Regions from separate parts of the Homo sapiens genome. Here regions 1 and 2 are each linked to region 3. The links are contacts of gene promoters, found by promoter capture Hi-C in blood cells and fetal thymus (Javierre and others, 2016). All regions are on one chromosome and are shown on one strand. Each heading gives the region's core, a stretch centred on a gene start or on the middle of the fragment in contact. The rest is flanking DNA. Distances are from core to core; before and after follow the strand shown.

The links. The method cuts DNA at HindIII sites, captures the fragments that hold promoters and counts their contacts. A CHiCAGO score of 5 or more calls a contact.
Region 1: the fragment with the promoter of CTDSP2 here is called in contact with a fragment that was not itself captured in region 3 in 3 of 17 cell types (monocytes, non-activated CD4 T cells and activated CD4 T cells); the score reaches 7.5 in monocytes.
Region 2: a contact is called between the fragment with the promoter of METTL1 here and a fragment that was not itself captured in region 3, in 1 of 17 cell types (activated CD4 T cells). The highest score is 6.1, in activated CD4 T cells.

Annotation. Positions count from the first base shown.
Region 1 is chr12:57,845,432-57,848,131 of GRCh38, forward strand. It overlaps CTDSP2 (CTD small phosphatase 2), which reads right to left and starts at 1,298. Exons shown (of 8, transcript NM_005730.4): 1 at 941-1,298. The coding sequence starts at 1,004. RefSeq lists silencers at 120-419, 1,010-1,439, 1,450-1,529, 1,600-1,779. The HindIII fragment of the contact is 5,566 bases long and covers 1-2,700 here.
Region 2 is chr12:57,770,659-57,773,358 of GRCh38, forward strand. METTL1 (methyltransferase 1, tRNA methylguanosine) reads right to left here and starts at 1,447. Exons shown (of 6, transcript NM_005371.6): 1 at 1,316-1,447; 2 at 436-599. The coding sequence starts at 1,425. It overlaps EEF1AKMT3 (EEF1A lysine methyltransferase 3), which reads left to right and starts at 1,956. Exons shown (of 3, transcript NM_015433.3): 1 at 1,956-2,243; 2 at 2,359-2,470. The coding sequence starts at 2,067. RefSeq lists enhancers at 306-1,505, 1,191-1,480, 1,611-2,120. The HindIII fragment of the contact is 5,954 bases long and covers 1-2,700 here.
Region 3 is chr12:55,717,065-55,719,764 of GRCh38, forward strand. It overlaps BLOC1S1 (biogenesis of lysosomal organelles complex 1 subunit 1), which reads left to right. Exons shown (of 4, transcript NM_001487.4): 3 at 2,027-2,159; 4 at 2,435-2,639. The coding sequence ends at 2,545. It overlaps BLOC1S1-RDH5 (BLOC1S1-RDH5 readthrough), which reads left to right. Exons shown (of 6, transcript NR_037658.1): 3 at 2,027-2,159. Among named protein-coding and RNA genes, the nearest start is that of RDH5, 2.0 kb to the right of the region's middle. RefSeq lists enhancers at 617-776, 877-926, 1,037-1,196. The HindIII fragment of the contact is 2,957 bases long and covers 1-2,700 here.

The DNA.
Region 1 (2,700 bases), core at 48-2,547, 2.1 Mb after region 3:
CGCCTCACCCCCGCGAGGGCCTGCGGGCCCCCTCGCGCCTCCACCTGACGCTCTGGAAGGCGGGGGCCGCCAGCCGCTGCCCACAGAGAACTCGCACTTTTTCGCTGCGCGATTCAGAACCACGCCGGGTCTGATGCCATCCGGCGAATTATGTAACCAGGGACACCGCTCCCGGGCTAAACAAACGCGGCTCTGTGTGTGCAGCGCCGGCCCCGGGGGAGCGCACCGGGCAGGGAGGGGCTCTGGCCGGGCCTCAGGGTCGGGCTTGTTTGCTCAGCGAAACTGGTCAGAGGCAGCCGGGAGGGAGCCCGACGCCGCCAAGGTCCCGGGGCCTGCGCTGAGCCGGGAACCCGCCACGTCTGGTGCGCCAGGGCCCGGGCCCCTCCCCCACCGCGACCGCCCCCGCCTCCAAGAGGTGAACTTGGTCCCAAGTCCCGCCGGACGCCGTCACCGCCAGCTAGCTGCCCGAACGACCTCGGGCTTGGGGGGGCCTGCAAGTGCTGGACTCCAGTCTCGGTTCCGTTCCACCTGGGGCTCCCTCTGTCACCTTCCTAACCCCTCCCCGCGATCCCGGGGCAGCCGCGCGCGGCGGTGAAGGAAAGTGACGACCCCACCCCCAACTCCGGAGGCGGTGGACGCGGAGTGGCCCAGTGCTTCGAGAGCTACCCCTCCGTCTCTCAGCCCCGAGGGGGAGGGGTTGCGGGACAGGGTGACAGCTGCGCCGAAGACGCCCTTTCCGCTCGGGCGCCGGGATCCCCGTGCAACCCCCACGGAGGTCTGAGTGCCAGCCGGGATGCGGGGGCGGATGGACCGGAGGGGTCCAGTCGGGATCGCTGGCTCTAAGCCCTGGAGGTCAAGGGCCGAGACCTGGGTTCGGGGCTGTGCTAGCCCCCTCCGCGCCCGGGGGCGACGCAAAGTTTTGGGAAGTTGCTGCCCCTACCTTGCTTGGTGAGCACCAGGGCGTCTTCCCTCCGCGCCTGGGTGATGATGGAGCCGTGTTCCATCTAACAATCCCGCGGGCCCGGGCTGGCTGGGCGGGAGGACGGGCGGGCGCGCGGGCTGGGCTGGGCTGGGGGGCCTGGGCGGGGGCCCGCTCCGGCTCCCGAGACTCCGACTTCCACAGCTGTTCACATCCCCCCTCTCGTTTCCTCCCCGGACCGGGAAGGGAGGCGGCCTGTACAAAGGGCGGGCGGCCCGGGCAGCGGCTCCCCCGGGTGCCCCCGGCCCCGATCCCCCAGCGGCAGCTCCGGGCTCCTCAGTTTGGGTCCAACATGGAGAATCCGGAGCGAAAACAAGAGGAGGAAATGGGACACGGGGCGGTTTCCAGGCTCCCCCCTCCCCTCCGTACTCCAGATAAACAACCCGCGGCTGCAGCGCCCACCCCCGCGCGCCTCCCGGCTCTCGACTCGGCCTCTTCACGGCCAGCTGGAGCTTCCCGCTGGGGGCTGCGTCCTAGGCCCTGGGACCCTCCATCTGTGAGCGGCCGGGGCTGCGGACAGTCGGGAGCTTTGCTATTTTGTTACGGAAAAAGCGAATCCTCAAGGGGGGTGGGGTGGCGGGCGGGCAGGCTGGCGGGGGAGACTTGAAACCGTTCCGGTGCTCCGATTGGCTCTCTTGGAGAAAAGGGGCGTGGCCCCTCCTTACTATGCGGTGAGAGGACCTAACAACATTCCAGGCGCCACGGCCACGCCCCCGGGCCACTCCCCCCGCGCCAGACTGCGGCCTCCCAGTCTCCTCGGCCACACCCCCTTCCCAACTATTTAAAAGGCCGCTCCGAAGCTCACGTTCTGGTGCTCTGTGCTGGGGTGTTCTTTTCTCGGAGGGCGCACTCGGGGAAGGTGGAAAGGTTTCCCCCTTCAGGGGTGACCAAGACAAGCCGCTAAGCCTAACCTGACTCCAGCAGGGGATGGGGCGGATCGGAAGTTACCTTACCCCCCTGCTTAGCCCTAGAATCAAGGACGTACCAAGTCACATAAAAGTACAACCGTCGAGGCCAGGCGCGGTGGCTCACGCCTGTAATCCCAGCACTTTGGAAGGCCGAGGTGGGTGGATCACGAGGTCAGGAGTTCAAGACCAGCCTGGCCAAGATGGTGAAACCCCGTCTCTACTAAAAATACAAAAAAATTAGCCGGGCGTGGTGGCGGGCGCCTGTAATCCCAGCTACTCGGGAGGCTGAGGCAAAGACTTGCTTGAACCCGGGAGGCGGAGATTGCAGGTAGCCGAGATCGCGCCACTGCACTCCAGCCTGGGCGACAGAGCGAGACTCTGTCTCAAAAAAAAAAAAAAAAAAGTACAACCTTCGAATCCCGAAAGGGGTGTGTGCGTGTGGGCGGACCTAGGACTCCAGAGTATAAGAGCTGGAACTGACCTCGGGACTGTGTCCCCCAAAACACTGAAAATGAGACCTGAGGTGCTGGGCTTTCCTCACACCCACCGACTTACTCCCATTTAGGCGGCCCCGACTCCGCCCCTCCTCCCTACCTCCCTCATCCTACCCCTCTCTTTTTGCCCCCACAGTCCCAGCTTCCTTTAGATGGATGGAGGTCTCTCGGAGGAGCTTCAGCTTTGTGGACTCAGGCTGCCTTCCCCACTTGCTCTTTAGGCCTCGGGGCACGCTCCGCTGGCTACAGCTCCTGGAGTCTCTGCTCAAGGTTGTGGGTGCTTTTGTTCCCCAGCGGTGGTAGCTCCAGAAAGGCTGGT
Region 2 (2,700 bases), core at 197-2,696, 2.1 Mb after region 3:
GACAATACAAGAGGAACCCAAAAAACAGGAGAGTGGGGCAGAAGGAATGAGATCTGGCGAGGGAGGGGCAAAGGGGAGGGGAGATGGTAGAATCTCTGAGAAAAGACAGTTCAGGATCACTGGCCACAACGGCTAATCTCTGATGCTTGTGCTGACCAGCTCACTGACCCGGAACCTGGCAGATGAAATGGCTCATGTAGGGATTGACGCCAGAAAGGACAACCCAGGTTTTAAGAAGCATTTGAGGCAGCCCCCTCCACTCTCCAGGGCAAAGGTCACAGACCCAGAGTAGAGGGTAGGTGGAGCCTCTCCATGCTGATGTCACCAGTGTCTGGACGAAAGGGGAAAGGCCAATTATGACCCCCCACAAAAGTTGCTGAGGCAGCAGAAGCTACTAGGCCTCTTCTCACCCCAAAAAGAGGGCCTGAGTGTTACCTAACAGGCCACCATAGCCACAGCCTATGTCTGCAAACTCCACTTGGGCCTGAGCTCTCTTTTCTTTCTTATCCTTTGGGTCATCGTGGCTCTGATTTTGAGTGAGTGGAGCGAAGAACTCTGGGTATAGCTCAGACCAGTCCATCTCCTCTGGCTTCACAGGGCTATTGGAAAGAAGACATAAGAAGCATGAGAAGGTTGGTCACACCATTGCAGAAGTGGTACTGTGAGAGTGTGTGGGTGGGTGAGGGTGGGAGGTAAAAGGGAGGAGGGTTTCTCAAAAATTCTGTAACACTGGGCCCTGTGGCCTCTAAGAGGGACAATGGAAACCACCCTTAACTCCCAGTGTGAATCATAGGACCATCATGAGGCCCATAAACGCTGACCTGCCCAACTCCACTTCTGGCGGTTGATGTGACCCTGGCCGGGTAACTGCCCTTTCTGGGGCACAAGTTCCCCTTCTCCCGAGACTGGCTGCCTAATGCACTGGGATCCTACTTTGTGTTTGTGCTCTGCGGGGAGGGAAGGTAAGGTAAGGTGCGGGCAGGATTGTGTATATGTTTGCCTTTTTATTAAATCCAACAAACAAAAGCAAAAGATGGAAACGACATTCTGCCTCTATCACTTCAGTCTCAGTAACAATTTATTTCTCTTCCCAAACTTAGCACCGCTACCCAGACTTAGGCCCGAACGCCACGCCCACTCTCAACCCGCCAACTCCTCTCTCGGTCGAATCTCCCGGTCCCACCCCCAAAAACTGACGTCACCCATCTGATCCTCCCGGGTCTACCCCAAATCCTCCCAGCAGTTGCAGCACAACTGCTCTCCCGGCTGCTTTGAGAATCCCGCCCTCCTCTCTCTCCCTCTGCCCACTCCTCACTAGCGCAGCGTGTGGTCCGCCATGGGGTTGGAGTGAGCACGTTGCCGGTAGTAGCGCTTCTGGGGCGGTGGGGCCTCTGCTCCGGCCACGTTCCGAGTCTCGGCTGCCATGATCCCAGTCCGGGGTTTCTCTACCAAATCCACGTGGAGGCGCAGGCCAGAGGCGCAAGTTAATGACGCAGCCATGCGCGTTGGTGGCAGTTCCCGCCCCTTAAAGACCCAAGAGCAAATTCAGCTGGGCTGGGCTGGGCTGGGCTGGGCTAGGTGGGGAGGGCTGTAAGGAGCGAGTGCTGGAGGGAACCTCCGCACCGTTAGCCTCCAACTGGGAGGGCGAGGCCAGGCCCAGGGACCCAACGTTTTCTCTTAGCTTGCTTCTGCCTGGTCTGGGTTACCATCCTGGTTGCAGGCACCTGTGCACCCCACAGGTGAGAGGGGTCTAGAGACCTCGCCTTCTACAGTGGCATCAGTCCTCGCTCCTGTCCCCTTACTCCTGGTCTCGGACCAGTCCGCCCGGTCTGACTCTTGTGGTCCCGTGTGGGTTTCGTCGAGTGTGCGCTCGGGGCCGGGGCGGGAGGGGCAGCTCCTCATTCCACCTCCAGGAAATCGAACTGGAGGAAGGAGGGCAAACTCAGGGAGGCGGGGCTCGTTCCACAGGGACACCACGACGGCTCGCGGCCCCCAGCCTCTACCCCGCTCCGGATCCGGGATCTGAGCGCCGGCCGCGGTGCCCAGGCACTCCCTTGGCGGGCCGGATGGCGGACCCCGGCCCAGATCCCGAATCTGAGTCGGAATCGGTGTTCCCGCGGGAGGTCGGGCTCTTTGCAGACTCTTACTCGGAGAAGAGCCAGTTCTGTTTCTGTGGGCATGTGCTGACCATCACGCAGAACTTTGGGTCCCGCCTCGGGGTGGCGGCGCGCGTGTGGGACGCGGTGAGGAATGGGCTGCGCCGGGTGAGGGTCCGTGGGAGGTCCAGATCCCGGACTCCGCCTCTCCCATATGGAGCCATCCTCACGACTGTCTTTTTCTCTGTCTTTTCTCCCGTAGGCCCTGAGCCTGTGCAATTATTTCGAGAGTCAAAATGTGGATTTCCGAGGCAAGAAGGTGATCGAACTGGGTGCGGGGACAGGCATCGTGGGGATCTTGGCAGCGCTGCAGGGTGCGTGAGCTGGCTTTTTACGGGAGAGAGTGGGGACCCAGGGGCGCGGAGAAATGGTCACTTCGTGGATCTTTGGGGGAGAGGGGAGAACTTTGGGCCCAGTCTAACCCCTTCTTTTTAACAAATTTTTTTTTAAAATTTGTTTTTGTTTTTATTTTGGCGTCTGCTTCTGCGTGCCAGACAGCGCGAATTGCCTGTCAAAGCACCTAGGGTGGGTGATTGGGGAGGGC
Region 3 (2,700 bases), core at 143-2,642:
TGGCCAGTCTGGCCCTCAAATAGCTGTTGAAGGGGTGGGATGTTCCACTAATTCCCCTATCCTACCCCGCCCCTCCCAGCTCTTTGTAGAGCAACTTGAGTCAACTCTGAGTCCTAGCACTGGGCAAGGGAGGAACAGCTGCCGTGGTTAGAGAAGCAGCCAGATTTCCCCTTCCCCACGTTAACTTCCCTGGCATTTACAACTTGATGCCATCTGCCCACCTCCCTTCACCCTTCCAAGTCCAGCTGTCACTTCAGCAGGAGGGAGAGCACCCTCCTTCATTACAGCTTACCACCCTCTCCTCTGCCTCCCACCCTCTGGCAAGCCTGGGGAGCAGCTGGCAGGAAAGAGATGGCAGAGCTGGTGGTGGTGAGAGTAGAACCTGTTCCGGGAGCTATGGCAGAGCCAGGCTGTCTCTTACCTTCCTATTGGGTCTCTAGGGACCACACCCTGCCCCAGCCCTAAATGAGAATGCAAGTAACAGCCAAAGACTTGGGAAAAAGCAAAGAACATTGTCTCTTGACCCTAAGTGACCCAGAAGCGTGCAGAGATGATGATTTGCTAGTCTGCCTATTGGAAGAAAGGCAGTATGGTACCTTCCACCCCAGGTCAAGTAGAACAGCTCGGTGTGAATCCAGAGACTGAGTCATCCAAGTGAGCCATGCAGGGGCTGGGGTCATCTTTGTTACTCATCTTGGGGGAAGGTTGAGAGAAAGAAAGTTGTGGCTGGGGCCTCTGATCTCCCTTCTCTCCAGGCAGCTCTCTTTACTCAGTGTGAATATAGAAGCAGGTGGTCAATGGGGAAAACCAGAAGTTCAGGAATTCTCAGGGGAGTCTGTTTCAGTTCCTACCCGACCCTTGACAGTGACCCAGCTGTCTCCCAAAAAGAAGGAACAGGGTCTGCCCTCCCATTTCCTCCCTCCCACATTGGCACCTCCTGGGCTCTGCTGTGCCCATCATTTGTGAGATTGGCCCAGGCCTTTCCCTCTTCTTTTCCTTTGCTAGATGCCACCCCACTTTCAGCTTAGAGGGCAGCTAAGCCAAAGCCAGATTAGAAAGGGTTTTGTGTTGCTGCCCACGCCTCCTCTCATTCCCCGGAAAGGAAAACAAAGGCTCAGTCTATCTTGGCCCCTGTCAGGTGTCCTGCCCACTCCCTCAGCCCCCACCAACCCCTTCCCCGCTCCAGCCCCCACACATTCCAGTGGGTGGGGGCACCGGATGTGGAATCTCCTGGCTGAGTAGAGCTCTGGGGTGGGAAGTGAAAAATTCAACAGCCAATAAAGGAGAACAATTATTGCAGGGGTTGGGGAGGGCAAAAAACACTGGCAGAAGGTTGGGGACACCAACCCCATGGTAGTAATGGTAACCACAGCCCATACCTTGATTGAAAAGAAAAACTAGTGCCTAAGGCAGAAGGGAGGGAGAGCATGTGTGTGTGTGTGTGTGTGTGTGTTTGTGTGTGTTCCTTGATCTGTGTGGGCAAAAGCGAAGGCTTGGGAGAGCAACTGAGAGCCGAGAAGAAACCCCTGGGATACCCTCTTTTGACCCAGGGTTCCTGGGGAGGGGGTTTGTACTCCCATCCTAACCCGGCTTCAGGGAGGGGCCCAATTTCCCTCTCCAACTTCTTGCATAGATCCCTAGGCTTCCAATCACTGCCAGATGTGTTCCTCCTGCTGGATTTTCCCAGTTTTTCCATGCCCCTTTTTCCCTCCCAGCTTTTTCCTCAGGGATATCACCCCAGGTTTTCCCTCCCTTCCCCCACTCAGCTGCAGGAACTCCTTTTTGGGGTTTGGAGCTGGTATGTTTCTAGTCAGCTCCGAGCTTGGCTCTCCTGGGAATCCTGGGAGTGAAAGGAAGGAGCTGGGTTTATTTGCATGTACTGGTAGTCATTTGCATCACATCCAAAAATGGCCAAAATTATGAGCCCTGATTCTTGGCTGAACTCCCACTGCTGCAATGGAATATTAGTCCCGGAGACCACCCCCAACTAGCTGGAGCTGATCTCCTCCCTCCTCCAACCCCCCAGTGTGGCCCAGGCCTACATGAACCAGAGAAAGCTGGACCATGAGGTGAAGACCCTACAGGTCCAGGCTGCCCAATTTGCCAAGCAGACAGGCCAGTGGATCGGAATGGTGGAGAACTTCAACCAGGCACTCAAGGTGGGCCATACTCCCTACCTCACCACCCCAATCCTGGGCCCCCATTGGCTGCCTCCAGTCAGGTTACCTCAGGTTTAGGTTAAGGAGGAAGTAGGGTGGTCCCAGAAACCCCATCTATAGCCCCAGTGTCAGAAAAGGTAGAGAAAGAAAGAAAAGCAGTTGGTGGGTCCAAGTAAAGCCTTTTCCAGGAGATGAATAAAACGTATTCCCCAGACTGGAAGCCATACTCTACCCATTCTGATTCCTGGGCTCCCACCTCCTCTCCCCCTTCCCAGGAAATTGGGGATGTGGAGAACTGGGCTCGGAGCATCGAGCTGGACATGCGCACCATTGCCACTGCACTGGAATATGTCTACAAAGGGCAGCTGCAGTCTGCCCCTTCCTAGCCCCTGTTCCCTCCCCCAACCCTATCCCTCCTACCTCACCCGCAGGGGGAAGGAGGGAGGCTGACAAGCCTTGAATAAAACACAAGCCTCCGTTTCTCTGTGGTGTGTTTCAGAGAGCTACTAGCTCCAGTGTCGGGGGTGGGAGTGGAAGGTTC